Linked DNA regions of Homo sapiens: region 2 is linked to region 1. The links are contacts of gene promoters, found by promoter capture Hi-C in blood cells and fetal thymus (Javierre and others, 2016). All regions are on one chromosome and are shown on one strand. The core of a region is centred on a gene start or on the middle of the fragment in contact, and the rest is flanking DNA. Distances in the headings are between cores, read along the strand shown.

Region 1 (6,325 bases), core at 2,390-4,889:
TCAAGTGATCTTCCAGCTTCAGCCTCCCAAGTAGCTGAGATTACAGGCATATAATGCGCCCAGTTGTCAGTATTGTACTATAGAGTTTACATGTATGTTATATATTCTTTTGGGTGTATCAAAAAATCACATAATAAAAACAAATAACATGCAGTTATAAAGTAGTGGATTTGTCCCTGAAGATTTTTCCTTTAAGTTCTGTCACCATCTGCAGGTTAAAACTAGGTATTGCAGAAAACTTGTTTTTCAAAGATTAAAAAGTACAAACGGCTGGATTTCTGTTACAGACATGCTTACAATCCATCTGTGGATAAGGAGCATACAGAATACATTAAAGAGATAAACATTATAGCACCAAGTGTTTTGTTTTTTTTTTGAGACAGAGTCTCGCTCAGGCTGGAATGCAATGGTGTGACCTGGGCTCACTGCAACCTCCACCTCCTAGGTTCAAGCAATTCTCCTGCCTCAGCCTCCTGAGTAGCTGGGATTATAGTCACATGCCATCACACCCGGCTAATTTTTGTATTTTTAGTAGAGACGGGGTTTCACTATGTTGGTCAGGCTGGTCTCGAACTCCTGACATCATGATCCACGCGCCTCGGCCTCCCAAAGTGCTGGGATTACAGGCATGAGCCACCGTGCCCGGCTGTGTTATCTTATAAGTACCACCTGGTTAGTGTCCTACCAAATATCAAGAAACAGAAATAGTATTTTCACATCATAACAACTGATTTAGTTTATGTGAATAAAAATTTAAATCCCTTACTTTATTCATCCTGCTACTACCTTAGGCCAAGCCTTCATTACTTCATGACAGGTTGGCACCTGTTCTCCTTGTCTTCTTTTCCTAGTCTTTACAAAACATTGCCACTAGATTGAAGTCTTCAAATAACCATTTCATTACAGCATTGACCTCTTCCAAAGTCTCAAATGGTTTCACACTAACTGAAGAACAAAGTCCACACTCTTTAGATAAGTAGTTGACTTTCTATAGTTTGGCCCCAACCTGGTAATAAACCTTGCCTTCTCCCACCTCCCCATCACTTACCATATATAAATCCTCTACTTCAGCCAGTCTGTTTTTTGTCCATTGCTTACTCTGGATGTGTGATCTGTGTTCTTGGTATATCCCACTTCCTTGAACATCATTCTGCAATTTGGAACTTCCACCCCCTGCATATTTAATACATGTGTTAGGTTGTTCTCTTGAATGTGGAAAACTGAAAGGCAGTTTCAATGTTTATCTCTTAGAGGCCATTCTTCTGTTTCCTATCTACATTTCCACAGACTGCTGCCCCTAATTTCATCCTACCTATAAATCCTAGAGCTATCATTATCTCTGAGACAAAACATCCCTATTTTAAAAATCTAAATTACCACAGCAATCAGTGTCTACATCATTTGTTTGGCATAGTGACGGACTATTAACACTAAGTCGATTCATTCTGATAAAGTTTGTTTCTAAAAATAGATGTTAAATTTCTGAAAGCCAGGTATAATTTTATCGCTTCTTGTTTTTTTTCTTTCCTTCTTCCCTTACAAAGATCAGTAATGCTCATATTTGAGTTTGAGATCCCCTTTTCAATGTAAATATTTCTCAAATTCCTCTTACCTCCCAACAAACAATAGTATTGACATTCTGGGGCTTCATAAATTCAGAAAACATCATGACTAGTAGATATTATAATTTCATGCTTTTGAATTTATTAGAATTGTTTTAATGATAACAGCTTCTACATTTCAATGTAAATATTTCTCAAATTCCTCCTACCTCCTAATAAACAATAGTATTGACATTCTGGAGCTTCATAAATTCAGAAAACATAATGACTAGTACGTATTATAATTTCACGCTTTTGAATTTATTAGAATTGTTTTAATGATAACAGCTTCTACATACGTTTAATAATAATACATATGTATAAAGCAAAATAATGATGATAGCTAATATTTCGGGCCTCAACATATACTAGTGTTTTTATATGCGTTGTATTTAATTAAAAAAAATCTTAAAGGAATCACATAGACCTCCGTTTAAATTTAGGCTCTACCACTTGCAGCTGCTACAAGTTTGATTTATATAATCTTTCATTGCCAAAACGGGTCAGATTCAGAACCAGCCTCTTCAGGGTAACTGTGAGGATCAAGAAAATCACAACAGCCGAAGTGCTTTACAGTGTGCCTGGCATAAAACAAACTCTGAGAACATTTTTTAAAAAATCCTTTCAAGGTAGGCAGTATCATTCCTTCCCCCTCATTTCATAGATGGGGCAATTAAGGCTCAGAAAGGCACGTCGCTTGTCCAGGATCTTGGAGTGGTGGAATTAGGATAGGGCATTCTGGACTACAATAAACACCTGAGCGTTTAGCTGCTGTGTTCTGAGCTCCCACAGCACTTTTTCTTACAACACAAACTTTATTTACATCACACTCCACTTCCGCATCCTTCACTAAAATATGAGCTCTTCAAGGGCAGGGACTATATTTTTGCTACCGCAGTAGTTAGCGATACACACACAGAATATGAGGAAAAAGTGTCTGACCAACGATCAATGCACTCACGACTGAACCTACGGTGGCAGATTGCAGTGGGATAGAAGAGCTTTATGTGAATTGCGTACTGAGATGCAGACCTACTATTTTGGGAACAATTTGTTTTTGTTGTTGAAACCCAGAATGCAATTCTTCTTTTTACCTTTATTTTGCTTAAAAAGTTATTCCATAATTATAAACTGCGTAAAACTAGAAGAATGCCCTTGCACTCAACTAAAACTGACAGGTGTTTTACCTTTCCAGTCAGGCACATTGAAGGCCTTGTGACTTTATTGATTTTTGTTTTTTAAAGGGAGGACCTGCCAATTTATTAATCTTAATAGAGCTGTAACAGGAGAGTATAAATAAAAAGATAGTTCAGAGAAAATTTACTGAAATTAAGTTTGGATTAAAATCATCTGGCTCTTTTAAGGAAAAGGGACATTAACCAAAAGTGGCGTTAACTATCAACAATATTTATGATTCTCTCACTCAGTAGATACATAATGACGTCTGGCAAATTGTTTAACTTCCGTGGAACAATCCCCTCATATGTAAAATCAGGAGGTTGGACTACATTGTAAGTGTCCTTTTGTTTCCACCTCTTCGTGACCGAATGTGGGGTGAGGAAGGGGCAAAAAAGCGATCCCGGTCTTGGCTCCTTCTTCCGGCACGGGCCGGAGCTGACACCCCCACGGAAAACCGCACAGCGCCTCCGCTCTTTCTCCACGGGCTGAGGGATCAATGCACTTCCGCATAGGCCTAGGGCCCCACGCTCCGCGATCAGCGCCGGAAGCGCACGGCATGCTGGGATTTGTAGTCCTCCACCTGTGGCCGGCAGGCGTTTAGAACGCGAGGTCTAGTTGGCATTCTGGGATACATAGTTCCTGGGCGGGTGGGGGCGGATTCGTTGGTGTAATCTCTTTTCGGCTTAAAGAGCCAGAAGCGACACCACAGACTCCGGCGGGTCACATGACTCCAGTCTAGCTCGCATTGCGGCTCCCGCCCGGGCGAGTTCTCGCCCCCGCGCGGCCGTTGCCGAGGAGACGGCGCATGTCCCGCCGCGCGTTGCCCCCTCTGCAGTACCCCCGCCCCTCTTCTCCCACCACAATGAGATCCTAAGATGGCGGTGGCTGCGGCGGTTGGCGCTGCGTAGCTGAGGTCGAAAAGGCGGCCACTGGGGCCGAGGCAGCCAGGAAACGTGTGGGCCTCTCTGCTGCGGTCTCCGAGGGCCGACCGCTGCCGGCGGCGGGTCGTGGGGGCTGACTGTCGCTCTGCCTTTGACAGGAGAGGCTGCTTCTTGTAGAGGTAATGCCTGCGCGTCCCCAGCCCTTGGCAACCTAGGGCGGCGCGCCCCAGAGGCGGGAGAGTAACGGCTCCGGGACACTCGGCCCTGTTGGGTCTGGCCACGGGCCCACGCCTCCTCTGTAGGTTCCCGGGTCTTCCTGCCCCGGGCTTCCCGTGCCCTAGGCGGTCAGTCCGCCCGCTCCCTCAGGACTGATCGCCGGGATCCCCGGGTGAGCACCTCGCGACGCGTTGGTGATTGCAGGACTCCCTTCTTGCCTCCTCGCCCCTCCTGCTGGCCCTGTCGGGGAGGCTGTTCTGCGTCCCGGTGGCTCCGGCTATACCCCTTGCGGGCGGAGGAAGCGGAGCGGGGACTCTGGTTTGGGTGCTAGGGGCACTGGGTCGAGTTCTTAGAGAAACAGGCCTTGGTGGCCATAGTTCTTCCCCGCGTTCCCTCTGTGGAACTCTCGGTGTCCAGAGTTTGGGGTGTAGAAGGGCGGATGAGGAGCGACGCGACTCTGAAGAGTTGCAGTTGGGCTGTGAGCTGCAGGATTTCCGCCGTCTCTGGTGCTGTGGGAGCCGATGGGCCGGGGGAGGCGTTCCTGGGAAGGTTAATGGAGTAATTATTGCCCCTTCTTTCTCCCTTCCTACCTATCTAGTTAGAATTGGGCCTAGAACCGGGAAAGACTAAATGCCAAGTGGGACTGGGGGAAACGTTGTTTGGTTTACAGAAACTGGCGTTTGGGGATTAGGCCCCGCCAGGGAGGCTGGGCGCGCCAACTTTGCATCCCTCAGCCTACTCCCCAGGAACTCGCCTGGTTTAATTTTTTTTGTTTTGTTTTGTTTTTTTGAGCGAGTTGAGGTCTGTATTGTGTGTCTTACGGGTGACGGTTCGTGTTTGGGCGCTGGAAGGAGCGGGCTTTCTGGGCGCCCCTACCACCCCCGCCCCATAACCGCTTTCCAGACTCCGCCTGCTGGTGTTCTCTGGTTACCGGAGTGGGTGTTGCAGAGCCTCGGGTGCACCTGCTCCTTTCTTTCCCTAGCACCTTCCTGGTGAGGACCCCTGAACACCAATATAATACAGAGTTTTTGAATTGAAGGTAAACCTGGTATTTATGTAGTGACGAGGTTATTTTATTATGAAGTACAGTAGCTTTTAAATGAGCAAACATTTTTAAAATCATCGGATATACGAGGTTGTTACATAGTTTGAGTAACAGGAAGCTCGATCAATCAGAGGAGTAAACTTTGGCATAGACTATTAAAGGATAGTTAGGGCTAACCATCTTTGTTACACTGTTCCGAAATAGATATCACTTTGCTGTTTGGTAAGATTTCAGAAGTTTAGGGGATTTAAGCATTTATGCATATCACACTATTTTCCAAAAGAATTGAGGTAACTTAAATTTAAAATATGAATAAGTTATATTTTTCCCCTTCTTTTGATCTTTCTAAACATACTTTAGACCAAAACTGAAGTATTTTTTATTCTGTATTTCATAGCGTAAGTAATTTACTTAAGTGATACATATTTTTAATCCTAATTAGGAAACAGCTTTGAAGTGTGGAGCGGGAAAGGAGCAGTTTCTGAGCTGCAAAAACTAGTTTCTAAACAGGTAATTTGACATTATTATCTGTATTATCCTTTGTATTAGAGTTGGAGAAGACTTTATGGTGGACACTGCTGTCACAGTTACAGTGCATGACTGAGGATCCTCTCTGCTTAGTAAACAAACTTTCTGGGTTCACCGCCCTGTTTGCTCTGCTTTTCGGCGTGCTGCTTTGGCCTGCCGGTATATCTTTGTTCGGAAAGGCCCTGTCATTCCTAATTATTAATTACTAGAATGGTTTATGCAGTACCGTTTGAAATTTATTTGTCTTCACAGAATTTTTTCAACCTGTTTGAATTTGTCCTATAACTGGATAGCCTCTCTTTCCAAATCCATTTAATCTCAAGTTCTCTCCTACAACATTCCTATTAATTGGCTGTTCATGAACTCTACTTGTCGAACTTGTTATACCTTGACCGAAATTTAGTTGTCTAAAATTACTTTATTATTATTTTTTGTACTTCGATCTCCCTTTCCTGGTATAAAGTTACTTGAAACATTACTTTTAGCGCATAGTACATTGTCACATGCAAGTGACATAAAGGTATTCTCTGTCCAGCAGAATAAAGTCAGTGTTGTAGAATGTAAGTTCACTAGGAGAAGTTCAATAATTGTTTGCAAAGGGCAGTTTGGAAAAATGGCTAAAAGATAATTAGAAGTTTGTTAAAAGCTTTTTAGAAATAATTGCTCTTCAGAAAAAAACCTCAGAAATAAATAACCTAAATTTAATTCTACTCTTAAAATTTTAAGAAAGTTCATTTTGAAAGTTTTGTAGAAATTGGCTGGGCGCAGTGGCTCACGCCTGTAATCCCAGCACTTTGGGAGGCCGAGGTGGGCGGATGACGAGGTCAGGAGATCAAGACCATCCGGCTAACATGGTGAAACCCCATCTCTACTAA
Region 2 (6,325 bases), core at 2,073-4,572, about 20 Mb after region 1:
AGCCATTAGTTGAAAGGATCTGTCTAGGAGGAAAGGTATGGTCATGGCCTCGTTATGAGAGCAGCCGTGCTGTTTCTGAGATGGATAGAATCCAACCAGGCCTGGGCACAAAAATAATTAGGGTCCTCAGTGATCACTCTTTTGTAGCCGAGAACTTTTGTACTAGGCCAAAGACATTTCTGAGGTACAAATAACCCAGTGCATTTAGGCACAGGGCTGCCTGCCGTGTAGCCTGCGTAACCAAGTCCCTGCAGTGCTATTTTCCTCTCCCGCGGGGATAGAGTTCCTTTAGGAATGCAGAACTCAGTGGCCTCCACACAGGCTCACCGTGGCTGAATCCCACAACGACCTCCTAGGTTCCCAGCACGAAGAAACCGGCCCGAAAGGGCTAGCGCTCACCCAGGCAGGCTTGTCTGCTGTCTCTTGTGTCTGCCTTCTTGAGAAATTTGGCCAGGAAGATCAGAGACAGTGGAGAGAGAAATGCAATAACCTGAATCAGAATGTCAGAGGTTAAAAACAATCCAAAAAAAAGCCACACTCGTGCTCCTACAGGAAAGAGGGATGTGACACAGCAGGACTCACTGGAGCTAACATAAGGTCTCTGAGTGCGCGTAACCGGGCGCCAGGCAGCGCCACCAGTGAACAGCAGCGCCCGTGCGGCTCGGGCCCCGGTACCTCAGGCTGAGGCACAGAGCGCCCGGGAAAACGTTGTCTCAGCCCAAAGAGGCTCGGACACCCTCCTCTCTCAATCAGGATCTTAAACACTCGAGCCCTAGGAGGCGGAACCCAGCGCACAGCAGCGGAGTGGGCAGTGGGTCCCTACAAAGGCCGTCTCGGGGTGGAAAACGCACAGGTGCCCGCGGGAAGCCGGGTCATGGGGAGGGAGGAAAGACGATCTTTCTCCACGCACAAACATCGGCTTGGTGGGGAAATACTCCGCCTCCACGTAGGGGTTCCGGTAGAGCCACATCTCCTCCGGCTGGATGAGTCTCTGGAACGGGGGGAGCAGCTCCGTCACCCTAGAGGGGAACAAAGAAGCGCAGAGCAGGTCGCCTGGCTTCCTCCCCGCTTCCCCACTGCCCGACCCGCCGCCCCGTGCCGCCCGCCTGCCTGGGAAGCGGGGCCGCCCGGGCCCGGCCGTGGATCTTTCTTACAGGAAGGCCGCGAACAGCGCGAGCCGCACGCCCACTTCGGCCCCAAAGGCCACCGCCGCCGCCGCCTTCCCCATCCGGCCGCGAGCTCCGAGCGACGCTGCGCTGACGTGGCCACCTCCGCGGGGAGGGCCGGGCCGGGAACTGGGCACCGCCCCCTCTCCCAGTTGCCCGCGCTCCGGCGGCTCCCCAGGAAGACGGCCTGGCGGCTGTGCCGAGGGCATCGTCTGGCAAAGGGTACGCAAAGCCAGCGGAGCTGCCCTCTGGTGCGTTCAGCAGGGAGCCAGCGCCCCAGTTCCAGCCGAGTAGGTCGGCGTACGGTCCATCATCAGCAGCTCGTCTCCACGGCCCAACCACACCACCGCGGGGAGCAGCCTTCTCCCGGGACCTCGCCTCTAAATGGAAAACCAAACAGCCCGCTCTCAGATCCTCGTTCCTTAGCAACACAGCCGCATTCTGCAGGAAGCTACACTACCTGAGGTTGGCTGGATTGTGTCATTTAGTCCTCCCACCCAGGATGGCCTCCTGCCCAGAGTGTTGTAGCAAAAAATTATTGGCAAAGAACAAGCCCACATATTTAATTTGGAACATACAGGACAATTTATTGAAGTCAATCTCAAGCAAAATCTGAAATCAGTGGAATGTCATTAAAAACCTTTCCAAATTAATCCTCACGGAAGCAAAAAACACATTGGAATTCCAAAGTATTTGTAAAATAAAAAAGGCAACATCTCAGTAAATATAATGTACAAAAATTATATGTTCCTACCAGCACACACATCAGTAAAGAAGCTTAAATATTACAGGCAACCCTAAATACACTATAACTAGTCAACAATAAGCTATCTATATACAGGTTAACCAAGCTTTACACGTTTCACACTATGCAATAAAACATAGGCCAATCAACAAAATCCTCAAAATATTATATATCTTGAAGTCTATGTGGCAACATCAAGTCATTATACAGTAATGCCCTAGTGGAACACCCCCAGGGAAAATTAACACTAATCCCTTAGTGTCAAGAGCTTCTAGCCAAGTCACAGAAACTCAAAAGAGATTGACTTTAGTGAATATTGATGCTTTGTTATTAAAGACTCAAGTCTCAAGTGATTTAGGCAAAGTAATGGTTCACAGGATCTACAAAGTTTATTACAGATAAAGTACAGAAATAACCAATCTACAAAGATCATTATCATAAAGAACACGAGAAAATGAAAACGGAGTCTGTAGGTATCTGTGTTTGTTGTGCAATATCACTCAAATGGGTACAAATGAGTTTCTCATATCAATTCCAAATATACACATACCCTTGTATATAAAAAATGATATTAGCCAGTTGTAATACTCATTTAGCATCTTGATTATTAGTGGCAATATAATTATCTTAACATAGGGCATGTAACAGGACAAATGAGATAAAATAATGACAACCAAGTAAGTTTTATCCAGTCCATTTCTAAACTGACAAGAATACCTTATTCAATACCTTATATAGGTCATCTGACAGATACTTGAGGGCTGTTTGCACACATCAAGTGTGTTGGCAGGCAGGGAGGGGAGCAGTAAAAGCTGAGGGTGCTTTCTCACTAACTAGCAGATGCAGTAATGCCACATAAGAAAACTAAGGACTGAATAAATGACTTTGGCATCTATTCTATTTTCCCTTTTTACTTACATGTAAATTACTTTTACAGCCTACTGAAGGACAGGCAATTCTCATCCCCCTCCCGCTTCATACATACGTGCCACAAGCACCCAAACTTGTCACTTATGCAATGGACTGACCAAAACAAAACAAAAAACAGAAATGTTTTTTGAAAGACACGGATTACCCACATTTTGGGAGTGTAACGTAAGTGCAATTTTTTGTTTTGTTTTTTTCCCTACATAGACATAGTAAAAGGAAAGAAGATGTGCTTGGGGAGAGGGTTGACAAAATGACAAAATAAAGAATGTACATAAAAAGTATTTGTAAAAATGCTGGTATCTCATGCAGGAGTCTCTTCCTCAAATGTGTTCAATCAATCTGAGCTATCTACTGTGAACACTCTCCCATTTGCAGAACTTCACCTTTAATCCACGCTAAAGAGGATAAGAGACTAGGCTATTTATTTTCAAAACAGTTTACAAAACAATGCTTTCTACTTCATAAATGTAAAAAGAAACTAAAATAAGGAGAATCTGAAGAGTTTCAAGTACTTAAAAAACCTGAATTCAATGAGGCAGAGGTCTCAATGTTAAAGTGACTATTTCGTACCTGTGGTAAACATTATCCCCCCCCTTACCCTTTACCAGGAGAAAGGGGGTTCCCTTTCTCCTGGTACCCCACCCCAGGTAAAAGTTGGTGAGATTTCAGTATATACACATTTCCAACTTTTCAGTATTTGTTAATTCATTGCAAAGCTGTCTAATTATAGTATTCCCTAGTCCATCTGAAAATGGAAGCAAGTTCTACTTTTTGTTTTACAAATAACCAGAGACCAATTCTAGGTGGCCCTAGGCCAAAGGAAAGTGTTTCCATTCATCAATTCATGTCTGCACCAACTTGGACAACTGGGGGAGGCTGGATGCATCAGCCTTGTGAAAAGTAACTTTAGTCTACGCTGCCCAGAAATAAAGCAACTTTCCAATGTCCTTTTTCTCATATGGAAGTATAGAATGTCAGCTTCCCAGCTGTGAGGGCTCCATAGCCACTGTTTTCTTATCTTGTTAAGAGGACATGGCATGTGGCAGCCAACACCTTGACTTCAAGGTGAATGCTAAAGGAAGAGCTTTGTATTTAAAATGAAATGAAAGACAAGCAACAAGTCCTGGGCAGTCCAGAGATTGTATTCTCTACAGATGGCCTGTTTGCAAACAGTAGGTCTGGGTTTGACCTATTGGAATACACCATGCAAGAAACTACTCAAAAAGGAAATTCCACTTCATGAACCAGGAAAGTTGTCCAATAGCCTGTCCCATCTGAGGGTCCTTTACATGATTAGATACTCAATATCTCAGTTCCACAACGTTATTTACAGACATGTTTTCAAATATTTTGTGTAAATGGCAGAAGGGAGCTGGGAGCAGTCCCCCTGCCTCCATTACTTTTTTAGCTTTCACATATGTTCTTGACTTGTACAGAAAATCCCAAATTTTAAATGATTCCCCAACTCAGCCAGTTCTATAGATGAGGCCAGATCATTTTTGAGAATTAAGATAAGAGTGGGAACTTGTTAAAACAAAAATGAAAATAAAACCCACCTCACTCCTGTATCTCTCCCTGATTAGACATTAAAGAGGTGAATCACTGCCTCTGGCTGCTTCAGCCTTCCAGGAATGAAGAGCCATCCACCTTGCCCTTCTCAGCCAGCCACAGGCAGCTCTTCTGATTCTTCCCTCGCAGCAGTGGCGGTCCAGCCCCTCCCTCCCCTGCACAGTGCCTGAGAAAGTTTCCCAGGATTTCATCTTTAGCTCTTACTGATCCAGTTTCTGAAGCTTTAGGCTGATTATCAAAAATCTTATGTTCACTTCTTCCTTCAACAAATTAACATGTGGTTAAAAAAAATACCACCATTAGCCCATGCTGCTTTAAGTTATTTCATTGTTGGACAAGAATAAAAACCAGCCACTTACACTCTGACCACATATAGATTTAAAAGTTAACAAATACCAACTTCAGACTATGAGTGAGCAATGTCTTTTGGAATATTTCATTGGTGTATCACAGGCACAGTGCATGTATACTCATGCACACATAAAGGACAATTTTCTCTTTCTGCATCTATAATCTGCAACTTAAAAATATATCAAATAGGTCAACATTGACGCTATGGAGGTGTGAGGAGAACTCCTTGGCACCAGCATGACTAAAACCGCTTTTTAGACCATTAAAGAACATTCATGGCCAAAGACTTCAGAACTATGGTTACCTTTTTTTTTTGAGATGGAGTCTCGCTCTGTCACCCAGGCTGGAGTGCAGTGATGTGATCTTGGCTCACTGCAACCTCTGCCTCCTGAGAAACTGGGACTACAGGTATGTGCCACCATGCCCGGCTCCTTTTTGTATTTTTAGCAGAGACAGGGTTTCACCATGTTGGTCAGGCTGGTCTCAAACTCCTGACCTCATGATCTGCCCACCTCGGCCTCCCAAAGTGCTGGGATTACAGGTGTGAGCCACTGCACCTGGCAGCTATTTTGTTTTCTACTCTGATTTCTGAAATGGTGAAACAATCCTATTAATCATAATTTTTTTTTAATTTCAGCAGAGCTCTGTTACAGATATGAAAACAAAATGTGACACAATGAAGAAGCTGCATAAAAATACTGAAACCTAAGGTATCTGTAGTATATAGGATGTACCCTGGCTTACCATAGAAAAGTCTTTAGATAGTAAATAGCACTAAGTCTAAAAGCAAGGAGATAAGATTTCATGTTGGATACTGTTTCAAGAACTGTATTTGGAATATTAAAGGAAATCCTTATGTTAGTAAGTTTAAAAAACCAAACATCATATACAAAATAAAATTTTAGTATGATAAAACCTAGCTTTTCTTATTTTTTAAAAGGACATCAAACTATATAATTGCTCAAGAGCAAAGTTTAGTGTTTTGGTGAGCTGTATTTCATGTTACTTGTAGCAATTATATTTGGTGACATGGATCGCATTTTCCATTTTGCTCTTTCTTTTGGGACCATATCTAATCAACAGAAGTACTGGAAGCCCAATGAGTCACCGCAGAATTAATTGCTGGAGTCAGGCAAATGGCAGTTTAGGAGCTTCAGTAAAAGAATTGTAGTGTTTTTTACAAGAGAAAATCCAGTATAATTGCACATTTACATACAAAAAAAAGAGGCACAAAACAGATTTTCACCCTCTTTCCATAGAAGAGCTCTAAATTGATAAGCAAATGGAACACTCAATACAGCTGAAGGAATGTGGTAGAGCATCTACCCTCCCTACCTTCATAAGGTTACTAGGTACTTGAGGGAAAATAAATGCTACCAGGTACCAGCAATTGTAAGCAGTCAAAATTCACAGAGAAAGTTAACATTCATTCAAGCTAACCCTAGACTTCTACTTAGTACAGTGTTACAACAATGTCTGACATTACTAATTATTTTCATACAAGGAATACTGGAATATACATATTCCTAAGCATTAAAAGCAAGTGAGTTTGGTGAGCAGACAT

Evidence for each region. The method cuts DNA at HindIII sites, captures the fragments that hold promoters and counts their contacts. A CHiCAGO score of 5 or more calls a contact.
Region 2: a fragment that was not itself captured here is called in contact with the fragment with the promoter of PCM1 in region 1 in 1 of 17 cell types (non-activated CD4 T cells); the score reaches 5.7 in non-activated CD4 T cells.

The regions. Positions count from the first base shown.
Region 1 is chr8:17,919,349-17,925,673 of GRCh38, forward strand. PCM1 (pericentriolar material 1) reads left to right here and starts at 3,640. Exons shown (of 39, transcript NM_006197.4): 1 at 3,640-3,840; 2 at 5,365-5,432. It overlaps LOC124901867, which reads right to left and starts at 5,639. Exons shown (of 4, transcript XM_047422505.1): 1 at 5,566-5,639; 2 at 4,809-4,879; 3 at 4,161-4,418; 4 at 1,680-3,998. The coding sequence starts at 5,639. The coding sequence ends at 3,316. RefSeq lists silencers at 832-1,126, 3,852-4,146 and enhancers at 3,008-3,457, 4,608-4,667. The HindIII fragment of the contact is 6,694 bases long and covers 1-6,094 here.
Region 2 is chr8:38,267,972-38,274,296 of GRCh38, forward strand. It overlaps NSD3 (nuclear receptor binding SET domain protein 3), which reads right to left. Exons shown (of 24, transcript NM_023034.2): 24 at 1,733-6,325. It overlaps PLPP5 (phospholipid phosphatase 5), which reads right to left and starts at 1,253. Exons shown (of 7, transcript NM_001102559.2): 1 at 1,155-1,253; 2 at 911-1,019; 3 at 400-490. The coding sequence starts at 1,228. It also overlaps a transcript of DDHD2 not described here. RefSeq lists a silencer at 972-1,451. The HindIII fragment of the contact is 2,614 bases long and covers 2,016-4,629 here.